2 separate regions of the Homo sapiens genome follow, and region 2 is linked to region 1. Evidence: promoter capture Hi-C in human tissues and cell types (Jung and others, 2019). All regions are on one chromosome and are shown on one strand. The core of a region is centred on a gene start or on the middle of the fragment in contact, and the rest is flanking DNA. Distances in the headings are between cores, read along the strand shown. Region 1 holds the start of CGN (cingulin). Region 2 overlaps S100A10 (S100 calcium binding protein A10).

Evidence for each region. The method cuts DNA at HindIII sites, captures the fragments that hold promoters and counts their contacts. A contact is called where the count stands out against the background at its distance.
Region 2: a contact is called between a fragment that was not itself captured here and the fragment with the promoter of CGN in region 1, in 2 of the 25 tissues and cell types used here (H1 embryonic stem cells and IMR-90 fibroblasts).

The regions. Positions count from the first base shown.
Region 1 is chr1:151,508,607-151,514,661 of GRCh38, forward strand. It overlaps CGN (cingulin), which reads left to right and starts at 2,781. Exons shown (of 21, transcript NM_020770.3): 1 at 2,781-2,909. RefSeq lists enhancers at 1,858-2,434, 2,435-3,010, 3,162-3,301, 4,164-4,740, 4,741-5,316 and a silencer at 2,432-2,831. The HindIII fragment of the contact is 12,501 bases long and covers 1-6,055 here.
Region 2 is chr1:151,984,896-151,990,950 of GRCh38, forward strand. It overlaps S100A10 (S100 calcium binding protein A10), which reads right to left. Exons shown (of 3, transcript NM_002966.3): 2 at 1,204-1,356. The coding sequence starts at 1,335. Among named protein-coding and RNA genes, the nearest start is that of S100A10, 5.9 kb to the right of the region's middle. The HindIII fragment of the contact is 5,250 bases long and covers 1,008-6,055 here.

The DNA.
Region 1 (6,055 bases), core at 1,531-4,030:
GAGACGGGGTTTCACCATGTTAGCGAGGATGGCAAATCCACTTCTTTGATGAAACCTGCAATTTACCTAAAACTTTCTCTATTATCCCATTTCATAAAATAAAACTTCTCTCTTTAACATCTATCAGTGTTATTTCTTCTTTCTGGGTATTATATTTGCTATAAATTCTGTTTTTGCTGTATTTATAAACTGGCCAATTTTGCCATTTCTTTTTTGAAAAAATTTTATTATTATTATTTTTTATAAAGATGGGGTCTCACTGTGTTGCCCAGGCTGGTCTTGAATTCCTGGGTTCAAGCGATCCAACTCCAGGGCTCAAGCTATCCTCCTGTTTTGGCCTCCCAAAGTGCTGGGATTAGAGGCATGAGTCATCACGCCTGGCCCTGTAGCATTTCTTAAGGAGAGGGATCACCTGTCTTCTGAACTCTGGAAAAAGACCAGGGTGTCGCCTTTGTCACTTGTGCCTGGATGTACCTCTCAGACTGAGTGCTTCCTTGAAGAACAGATGACGAAGGCGGTGACTCAGAGGCTCCCACTTATCCTTGTAATTCGTGTTCATGGTGCTGGGTAACCACCCAAATTGGTATTTACTACAAATATACTAAGTATCCTAATTGCTAAGGTGTTATCTAGGGGAGTTTAGGCGCTTCCGCCTTTCCAATATCTGAGTCAATTTAATATCCCACATTAAAAAAAAAAATCTCCTTACAAACACTTGGTGGGGGCGAGCGTGGTGGCTCACTCCTGTAGTCCCAGTACTTTGAGAGGTCGAGGCAGGCGGTTCGCTTGAGTTCAGGAGTTCAAGACCAGCCTGGACAACATGGAAACCCCATCTCTACTAAAAATGCCAAAATTAGCCCGGTGTGGTGGTGGGCGCCTGAAGTTCCAGCCACTCAGGAGGCTGAGGTGGGAGGATCGCTTGAGCTTTGGAGGCTGAGGCTGCAGTAAGCAGAGATTGCACCACTGCACTCCAGCCCGGGTGACAGAGTGAGACTCCGTCTCAATGAAAAAAACAAAACTAAAGCAAAAACAAAAACAAAAAAACCCAAAACAGGCTGGGTGTGGTGGCTCACGCCTGTAATCCTAGCCCTTTGGGAGGCCAAGGTGGGCAGATCACTTAAGGACAGGAGTTCAAGACCAGCCTGGTGAAACCCTGTCTTTATTAAAAAATACAAAATATTAGCCGGAAATCAATTGAATCTGGGAGGCGGAGGTTGCAGTGAGCCGAGATTGCGCCACTGGACTTTAGCCTGGGCGATAGAGCAAGACTCCGTCTTAAAAAAAAAAAACAACAAAAAAAACCCAAACCAAAAACCATCCCATGGGAGTGTCTCTGAACCTATTCTGGTTCAGGAGGCTGCACAATAAAAGAAAAATAAGAAAAAATTTTTTAAAAAAAAGTCTTTTAAAAGCCACCCAGTGTTCAGGAGGTGCGCTCCTGGAAGGACATTTCCTCTTCTGTCCCCACCCCCACTACATGTTTTTTGCTGTTCCTCCCCAGGGAACAGGCCGGTTTGATGGCCCTAATCCTTATATACAGCTTGCTCTGGAATGCAGAGACTTTGCATCCCAGCTGAGGAGCTGGTAAGTGGACTTTACTCTGTAGGACCCACACCTAGCTTTTGAAGGCTTGGGGAGGGGCGGAAACCAGCTCCCGAGAATACACCGGAATCTGTGCTGCATCGAAGATTCCTCTTCTACTCCAATAGATACAGGGTAAATATTTGTTGTAACTAAATGAGAACAAAATCCGGAGCCCAGCAACGTAAACGAAGTCAATCTCTTTTTTACATATCTCAACGGTTAACAGCTAGGATGCCAGCTTTAATGTTGTTTTAACTGCAGCTGGTATGAGCGGTCCTGCAGTTTGCAGAGCCCCTAGTTTTTACTCTTTTCTAGGAACTGGGATCAGCATCCCTACTTTTTGAGAGGCTAACTCTGAGGTAAATTTACAACTGAGTCCCTTTCAGTTTAGAACGAAGGTCATTCCTATTTTGGTAAATTTGCGTCCCCGGTTTCCATTCATTCAGTCAACAAATATTTATTAAGCATGTAGTATGTACCAGTCCCTGTTGTAGGCGTTTGGGGTGAAGCAAGGCACAGAACAAGAGATCCTTGCTCTGGTGAAGCTTATCGTAGGACGGGAGGCAAAATGATGAAAATGATTTTTAAAATTATGTTATTAACTAGAAGGTGATAAATATTACATAGAAAAAGATGTCAGGCTGCAAAATGATTGCGGAGGCCACAAGATAAAAGAGAATCCAAGATCAGGGTTCTGGTTCGGGTCAGGGAAAAGGGAGACGAGCTGAGGTGCAGGAGGCTCTGACGTCGGGGGACAACGGAGATATTTTCTGCAGAAAGTGACGAAAGAGCATTCTGGTTCCTGCAGAGGTAGGTGAAGGACAGAAAGGGCCCTGGCCGGCGATTCCCTTGGAGTAAACGGGAGGCAGGAGGCTGTTTTCTAGCAGAGCCCAGAAGATGCTCTGGCCGACGGCTCCCGGGATCTTGGCCGGCGGTCACTCGCGACCATCCGCGACGCCCCCAAAATGGCCTCCGCGCCCCTCGCCGCCCCGCCCCGACGCTCCGCAGCCCGTGGGTCCACGTGACCTGGCCCGCCCTTCGCGGCTGGAGACCCCGGGTCCCGGTCCCCGCACCGGAGGCCCCGCCCCCTACGGGAAGCGGACCAACCGGAGCGGGGAAAGGCGGGGCGGGCACTGACGGCCCGCGGGGGTGGAGCTCCGCAGCGGAGTAACAGGTTGGTGGGAGGGAGAGAAAGGAGGGAGCTCCGAGGACGAGGGGGAGGGCCGGAGCTGCGCGTGCTGCTTTGCCCGAGCCCGAGCCCGAGCCCGAGCCCGAGCCCGAGCCCGAGCCCGAACGCAAGCCTGGGAGCGCGGAGCCCGGCTAGGGTGAGTGGACCCGGTGCGGGCCAGGGCACCCGAGAGGAAAGCGAGCCTTCAGGGGTACCTTTGAGGGGCAGGCATCGAGGCGGTGTGAGATGCCCCTCTCCAGGGCACCGGTGCCGAGTGGGAGACGGGAGGAGGGGAGATTGGGGCGGGGTGGGGTACTGATTAAGAGCCGACCCCTACCCTGAGGTGCCAGATGCAGGTGGCTAGGAAGGTGCCAGGCGAGGGGCACCTGGGGCGAAGGCTGTTCCCAGCGCATGAAAGCGTTTCAGCGCCAGATGTCTCTGGAGGTCAGACGCCAGCCCTAGGGGCAGAATTTCTCTTGGAGACAGCGGTGGCGCGGGGAAGGAGTTAGTTCCAGCTGAGTCGGGAACTGCTGCTGCCTGAGGTGCAGACTCGCCAGGGGAGGGCATCTGCAGGTGCTGCTCGCCTGAGGGTCTTTCCTGCGTCCTGCGGTCTCAGCTGGCCGTTGTCAGCACCCTGGTGGCTTTGAGATGACTCTGAGGTGTGGGATTTTTTCCCCAGCCCTTCACCTCCGGCCGAAGGCAGTTGCGAATCAGAGACACTGAGGGGCAGATGAGAGGGCACCCTCATCTCTTCACCAGGTGTACAACCATTAGGCTTTCACTTTGTGTCCTTTGCTTTCGTGCCAGGGAGAATCGTTCCTTCTTCCTCTTGAGAGAGAGAGAGAGTACTCCCCAAGAGAGGGATATGAGGAAGCAAAGAGCCCTGCCTGGTCCTGCAAAATATTGATAAATATTAATACTTATTTCTCAGGAGGCCCCTTTCTGGGGGCGGATGTCAAACCCTTTCTCCAAGTACCCACATATTTTTTCTGTGGTTCTAGATGGGGACCATTGGATGAGGTTTGGGAGCCCAACCAATTTCCTTGATGTCTGGAGGAATCCCCATTACTCCCTGAACGCCCTCCAGGCATCCCTGACTCCTGAACTGCGGTGGCTGTCAGAATGGCAGCAGGCACTATTGGGGCAGGAAATAGGCAGGACTCATCAGGAGACCACGAGACTAGGGAAATTACAACTCCAAATCCCCAGGACAGATGAAAGGTGCACCTTGGGGCCCAGACAAGACTGGAGGCAAATTTCTTTGCCTTAGGCAGGTAAAGGAACTAGAGTCAACCTTAGCTTGGCCCCTTTGAAGCCCTGCCTGAGGAAGGTTGTTGTAATTGGGAAATAATTAGCAACCGCTATGTTTGTAGATGGGCTGCCTACACATGCCTATGCATCTCTTCTTTCATCCTGGATGTTTGGGAGTCTGGGGGCTGGCTCTGGGGGACTGCTAATCCAGAGATTTGCCCGACTCTAAGAGGATTCTGGCTTCCTAGAACCCTTCCTGTGTTTCCCAGGCTGGCCTGCATGCCATTCCCCTTGTGGGAGGTGATGGGGGTGTAGGGCTCTTCTCTTTGTGCCAGGGAGGGGCGGACTGAGGACCAGGGAGGTGGCCAAAGCAAGTGTGGGATCAGGAATGCAACTTTGGGAACCTCAAAGGGAGGGGTGGAGGGAGACAAAGTCTCCCTGTCACATACTGGCCTGTCACCAGGTTCCTGTTCATCTGCTCCTCCTGCCTGTTCCCTCCCTGCCCTCTGTCCTCTCCTTCAGAGCTTTGGCTTTGCCATCAAGGCTGGAGAGCCCCTGCCTGTGGTCTTGCCCCTCTGCCTCCTCCGTGGTGTGGAATTTCTCTGGTCTGCTTTACAAGCTGCCAGTGTAGTTTCCCCGGCCCTCCCCTTCCCCTTGCCTCTCAAACCAGTCCAGCCAGTTTGCAGGGGCCCAGTTCCTCATTGTGTTTTTTTCCCTACTGGCCAAGCAGCTGTAGCCTGGCTCTCAGGTTTCTGCTCTTTCAGCGGACCTGGGCAGGAGTCCACTTGGGGGATTCTTTTTGGATCCACGGGGAACCTTCTTATCTCTAACTATGAGAAAAAGGGTGCCAAATCATCAAGGTCACTGAGCTGTCCTTTTCTATTTCGACCATTTGCTTTCCTTGTTTCCTCTGAGGGGATTCTAATCTCTATACCTCAAGTTCTCCCGTTTTCTAAATCTGCCAATTATTTAGCATCAAGCATATTGCCTGGCCCTATGTGAATCAGTCCTTCCTCCACACACCCGAAACCACCCCACCCCCACTTCCTGCCAGAAGTCCAGATACCCTGTCACTCCTAGTTGGAAACCAGATGCATATGGCTGGGCCAGAGGTGATGGAATTGGGGCAGGGCAGGCTAATGAGTAACTCAGGGAGAAGTGGCTGTCTGGTACAGGTGTAGAGTGTTCTCCCACTCCTTGCAGGCAGGAAAGGCAGAAGCAGACAGATGCACCTGAATCAACTTGTGGTCTGGTCTCTTCCTGGAGTACAGTTGGTGAGGAGAGCCCTGGACATGTGATAGGGGAGAGAAAAGTAGGGTCAGGCATTGGTGAGGGCGCAGGCCCTGGACTCCATGTTGCCTGGCCCTTGATCACTGTTTACCTGCCTGTCTCTGGGGCTTACGCAAGGCCTCAGAGCTGCCCTGCTGCCTTGGTCCCGCCCCACTGTCCTCTGTAACCAAAGGCGGGTAGGTTTCGGGTTTTCCATGTTGAATCATTTAGAGCCCTGCTTTCTGACCCACCCCAAAGATCCCTTCAGCCCTCCTGGCCCCTGATCCACATGTCCTTGGACTGAAGGTGATTGAGGTTAGGGAGTTAACCTAACCTGGGACCTGGGGGAGTGTTCAACACTGCCTCTGAATAATTTAGTGCTGTTGCTCAAGGGTCTGTGCCCTCTGCTGGGCCTAGGCTGGGAACTCCTTGACCTGGATCTGGAAGATCAGTAGATGTACTGACAGGGTAGACTGCATCATGAATAAATCATATGGCTTCTGAGAGCTGGCAATCTAGGCACTTCTGGTTCTAAGATCATGACTACATAGGGCAGCAAGTCTGGACCAGGAGGAGGTCCTGTTGCTAAGAGGTCCTGTTACTGAGGCAAAGTAGATTTGTCCTGGGCAAATCTCCCCACTGCTGTGCAAGTGGGCTTTAGTTCAGGATACAGCCTTTAACAAATATTTGTTGACATCTACCACGTGTCCAAACACCTGGGGACACAGTGGTTAGCTGCTAGCCATGGTCTTTGCCCTCCAGGAGCTTATTATCTCGTAGGGG
Region 2 (6,055 bases), core at 2,383-4,882, 480 kb after region 1:
CTTCTAACTCCTGGTCTGGGGCTATATCACAGGACTCTACAAAAGCAGAGGACCTGCATATTCTAACTCATTCTGGGATAGCATTAGGTAATAACTGCAGCTCTGAGAGAGCAGTTAGGCTATTTATATCTGTTTATTTAACTGATATTGATGACATACGAATTATAGTATACTAAAAAGCCTCATGTTTATTGATTGCAGGAGTCAGGGGCTGGACTAATGTGCCGTTTACCAGTCAGATGACAAGAGGCAGGACCCAACGTTTTACCGTATCTCCTCTCACCCTTTACAGGTTAATGCATTATTCAACACCAAGCACAGAAACAATCTTTTCAGGTGACTACAATTGTGGTAGGGAAAGAAGGGCTTGCATTTCAGTCTACTATTTTGTCATGCAATGTTGCACCTTCAGTTGAATTCAACAGCCACCTCTCGAGAACCTGGAATATAAAAGGACAACTGTGCCTTGTGGCCCCATGTCCTGAGTGATGTATCTGAGCTGATGGCAGAGTCCTCTTATAGGTCTTCATGCATCTCTCAGTCTGTCAAAGGTGAGACATAAATTCAAACTGCTCCTGTGCTGTCAGAGCATTATTATGTGAAAAGCAGTTATTTCTGGAGTGATATGTGGCTTTTATTCAGTAGATGACTGACACTGCTCCTTTGTAGTATTAGAAAAAGAAAAAACAATCCCTTTATCTGAAGAGATTTAAGAAGGGAGATTCGAGTTGCTCAAAATGGAATGTGACCAGGATGTGGCATCTCCACCACCAGGTTTTTGGACCTGAAGGTAGCCATTTTCTGGTTGACTACTCTTTTGTGAAAAGCTTTCTTTCTCCCAACTCTGTCCCCAACATCGTCACAACAGACACAGATAACCCGATGGAATTTTCCAACAAACAGCTCATATTGTGGTTATTTGTATGCAGTCTTATTTCACCTGCAGACTGTAAGCTCCTTGAAGGTTGGGGCTGTGTCTTCATTACTTTGTTTCCTCAACAGTATCTTACAAATAGCAGGTACTCAATACTATTTAATAAATGAATGAATGAGGTCATTCATTCATTCCTTCAGGTGACTACATTCATTTATTCACTAGTGGTGACCTCCACAGGGAAGGGATGGAAACAAGAAGGAAAAGGAACCAAGGCCTAGAAGCATTGACTTTTATGTCTGGTTCTTTGTAAGCTTTTCAACACTTACTTCCAAAAATCCAGGGAACTCCTTTTCCATGAGTACTCTCAGGTCCTCCTTTGTTAAGTAGCCTTTATCCCCAGCGAATTTGTGAAATGTAAACATCATGGTTTCCATGGCGTGTTCCATTTGAGATGGCATTTTGGTGTGGTCCGTTGAAGCCTATTAAAGGATGTAAAGTAACAGGGTCTACATTAACTTTTTTTGGCAGACTTTATGCATGAATTTATTTTTTTTAAATTGAAAGATAAAATTGTATGTATTTAATGTGTACAACATGATGTTTTCAGGTATATATACATTGTGGGATGACTGAATCTAGCTAATTAACATATGCATTACCTCCCATAGTTAGCACTTCTGTGGTGAGAACACTTAGCCACTCTTAACTATTTGTCAAGAATACAATACATTGTAATTAACTATAGTCACGTTGTTGTACAGTAGATCTCTTAAACTTATTCCTCCTAACTGAAATTTTCAATCTTTTGACCAATAGCTCCTCAACATCACTCAAATGCAATCACCCCAGCCCATTCTATTCTTTAGTTCTATGAAATTCAGTGTTTAAGATTCCACATGAGTGAGATCATCTGGTAATTGTCTTTCTGTGCTTGGCTTATTTCACTAAGCGTAACGTCCTCCAGGTTCATCTTTGTAGATTTACATTAACTTTTAAGCCATATGTATTGCCAGCCTTTTTAGGATAATTGGAAAGATGGAGATTAGATCATCCATCTGATCTTCTCCAGCTTTAAAATTCAGTGAATGAATCTAAGAACCAGTCCACCCCAGTTTGGGTCCCTTGTTGGTAGAAATAGACACCTCAGATACTGGTGCTGTAAATAAAGGGGTTTAGCTAACTCCAGCTAATTTGCATGAATAATCTAATGAAGAATAGAAACTAATAATTTAGAAAAGCAACATCAGTGTTCCTCTTTTTTTTTTTTTTTTTTTTTTTTTTGAGACGGAGCTTTGCTCTTGTTGCCCAGGCTGGAGTGCAGTGTTGTGATCTTGGCTCACTGCAACCTCCGCCTCCCAGGTAGCTGGGATTACAGGCGTCCGCCACCATGTCCGGCTAATTTTTTGTATTTTTAGTAGAGGCGGAGTTTTGCCATGTTGAGCAGGCTGGTCTCAAACTCCTGACTTCAGGTGATCCGCCCACCTCGGCCTCCCAAAGTGCTGGGATTACAGGCCACTGCGCCCGGCCCAGTGTTCCTCTTTTTAACTGACAAAGCACCTACTGAAAGAACAGATAGTTCATAATTTCTCTTGGCACTAGTAAATGGGATTCTTAGATATGGCTGATACTAACAATCCACACAGTCAAGTCTGGTAAATACGAAAACTTCACCCTTCTAAGCTTAAAGTGGTAACTTGGTTCAGTGTGATTCTAGGGTTTAGAAATCTGCTTACAAATGAATTTATCTGCTGGGTATATATGTATTCTTTTTTTTTTTTTTTTTTTGAGACGGAGTCTTGCTCTGTTGCCCAGGCTGGAGTGCAGTGGCGCCATCTCGGCTCGCTGCAAGCTCCGCTTCCTGGATTCACGGCATTCTCCTGCCTCAGCCTCCCGAGTAGCTGGGACTACAGGTGCCCGCCACCGCGCCCGACTAATTTTTTTGTATTTTTAGTAGAGATGGGGTTTCACCGTGGTCTCGATCTCCTGACCTCGTGATCCGCCCACCTCGGCCTCCCAAAGTGCTGGGATTACAGGCGTGAGCCACTATGCCCGGCCTATATGTATTCTTTACTAAAGCTCTGAACTTGTTATTTACTGCAATAAAGACAGTTGCATCTCTGGCAGTAAAATACAGTTGCTCTACCCAAACAGAAAACTACTCAAAGTCCATTGTCTAGTTCACTTGAGAAGCAACAAGTAATACTATAACCTAACTCATTTGAGGGCCTCCTATGTTTTTAGTGACATTAGACAGATGAGCTGCTCTCACAGTCTGGGGTACAGTGGGAAAGCAAGAGCTTTCATCATGAAGCGTTTATAAGAAAGGAAAGGAAACATGTCAGATCATTACATTTGGGTATAATGAACTAGGGGTATATGTCTCACAAGACCCAGTACGTGGTACTTAATAGAACCTCAGTGAATTTTGGCTTAATTGGAAGGAATCATTTGGCGAGAACAGATAAGCTTTGGCTAATATCACCTAAAATCACTACTGGATAGGAAACAGGTGAACGTGAATGGAGACTGTAATATAGCACTAAAAAATAAAAATAAATAATCACAAGAATAGGCTTTGAGCTTAGATTGAAGGGCTGGCAAATTCCTCTGCTGAAGAGCTCTAATGGGAACCTGAGACATGCTTTGGTCTGGTTCCTATCTCTGAGAGATGCCTGTTCAACACTGATTCTCAAATGCTATCTTTTACAGAGGAGAAGGTGGAGTGGGTAAACATGAGGATTGAGCAATTAACACTTAAGAATTGTAAATTCTACCCCTTAATCTCCAGAAAAGTATGGGAACCAGCAGGCCAAAGAATGCTATAAATCAGAATCTGGCATGAGTCATCTGAAAGGCAGTTAGTTATCTTGGAGAGAGCTGCAAATTAATGCTTCAAGGTCTGCTGTGAGATGAATTCCAGGGGAACCACACCCTTTTCCTTCTCTTCTGACACAGCTCAGATCTGGCTCATCCCCCATCCCTCATATGGGTTTCAGATGGCAGTGGGCTTACAGAGAGTCTGCCTTGCCTGGACTGGTACTCCAAGTCCAGCAATTTAAGAGAACTGAACTGGGCGAGTCACCTCTGGGAGAAGGACGTGGGATCCCACCCCAGTTCTTAAATAACTCAGGAAAGGAGTCAGACACCACAGAGGTTTAAAAATACCTGTGCTCAAGTTCAGAGCAGCAGAGCACTTCAGGATCAATTCCCAAAGATCCCAGAAATTGGAACTGGGTGGGGTACCTAGTTTACTTTTTTCAGATGACAGGACAGAAGGAAAGTGCAGAATTAAGAAAGGGAATGCAGCAGGGTAAGGACCTCTAAATTTTAAAAAGGCTAATTTTAGGAGGTTCTAAGAAATACAAGTTGTCAGCTGAGGAAATCCTGGCCACCCTTGAGTATCTTCTTCAGGAGAGCAAGGTGAGTCTACCTCACACTGTGTGAGTGCTTAGGTCTGAAGTCACTCAGTCGCATGCCTCTCTTGCCCACAGCCATTACGAAGTGACGGAGCTTCCTTCTCTGAAGTTACATCCTTCTCCCACTTGGTCTTCCCCTCCCCTCCTCCCCCAGCGGTTTTATTCAGTGGATGGATTGTGAATATTGCAGCCAGCTGACTCCCTGTGTGTCCAGTAGGCCTTCTGCAATAAGGATGCAGAGGAGGGAGTAGCCAGGAGGTGAAAATAGCATTGAAAATCAGTGGAGAAGCCCTTGTCTCCTCAGCAACCAGTACCCCAAAGGGCACTGACCAGGGCCACAGCAAGGAACTCTGTTTTGGGGAAGGAGTTGCACACTGGCTTTAAAATAAGACAAAGGAAAGGGGGAAATGTTGTGATTAAAACTCTGTTCTCTTGGCTAGAGGATGAATCATGTAACTCTTGTCTGAGTGCAGCCAATGGTTGCCCAACTGAGTCAGCCCTGCCTGGCCCTCCGTTCTTGGGTGGGGCTTGCCTGGGCAGGGCTGTCTGCAGCACTGCTAGCTGCCAAAACTGAAGTTCTTCAGGGACTTCAATCTGGCATTTCCACCCTCACGTAGCCACTCTGCAAGCTCTATTCCTGGACAGATGTGGGCTTCCTGCATCCTGGTTAGACACATTTTGACAGGAGGGCCTTGGGGCTGGGGCTGAGGGGCTGCAGTGTCCTCTCTATCCCCAATAACGTACTCTTGCACCTGAAACATTCAATTTCATTTAATTGTTTACTTGTCTGCCTGAGATTTAAGCTTCTCTTGATTAAGAACTACAAATTATTCTGCTTTTATTCATGGAGCACTATATAACTGTTATGTGCATAAATGAACCACACAATCCCTTGGGCAGTAGCTGAGGTGCAGGTGTGATTACCCAGGACTAGGCTGAAAGCCTTGTAGCTCAGAGCTCAGGAGGACGATGTGAGAGCTGGGAAGGGCCAGGAAAGGGGCCCCAAAAGTGTTCAACTATGAACGGAACAGTAGATAGAGTACACAGGAGTGCACATTCCATACGCAAAAGGAAAAATATGTGTCCTGCTAAACAGGTCTAGTCAGAATGACATGACTGTGCTCCTTCTCTTCTAACACTTGCTATTTTCTCGTGTTTCATTCATCCCATCTTCTACTTTTTGCTTTTCTAGTGCTGCTATCTCACTGCTGAGCTCCACAGGATAATAACAGCCTTGCTGTCCACTCACCTTTTATTGAAGTATTCTAATCTGATGCCTATACATGCCCTCTACATGTTTGTCTGAGCAACAGGTCTTAAGAAGGGAGGCGGAGACATCTTTCTCTGCATAGTTTTCTCTATGGAAAACAATTCTGGACTCCACAAATTTAGTTACCTTAGGAGGAATTCAATTTTCCATTTTTGGTTCTCCCTCCCTGAGCACCTACTTTGAATGTCCCAGACATGGTGTTAGGCATGAGGGTGTTCACACACACATACACACATGCACACACACACAAAGCTCTCCATGGTGCTTGCCTTTGAGGAGTTCACCAGCTAATGGAATACTATTAAAGCATTTGGCCTGAATTCTAGTTATTTGTGTTTCTGTTTCTTTCCTCACTAGGTTGCAGGTTTTTTGAGCAGGGTCCCAATAGCCAGTGCCCCAGCCCTCATAGAGCCTGCTCGATGAATTGTTAAGAAATTGATAATGATGTATTTTGGTTGTCCTGCGAGTAGCAGACAAGCAGGAGTCCTCCTC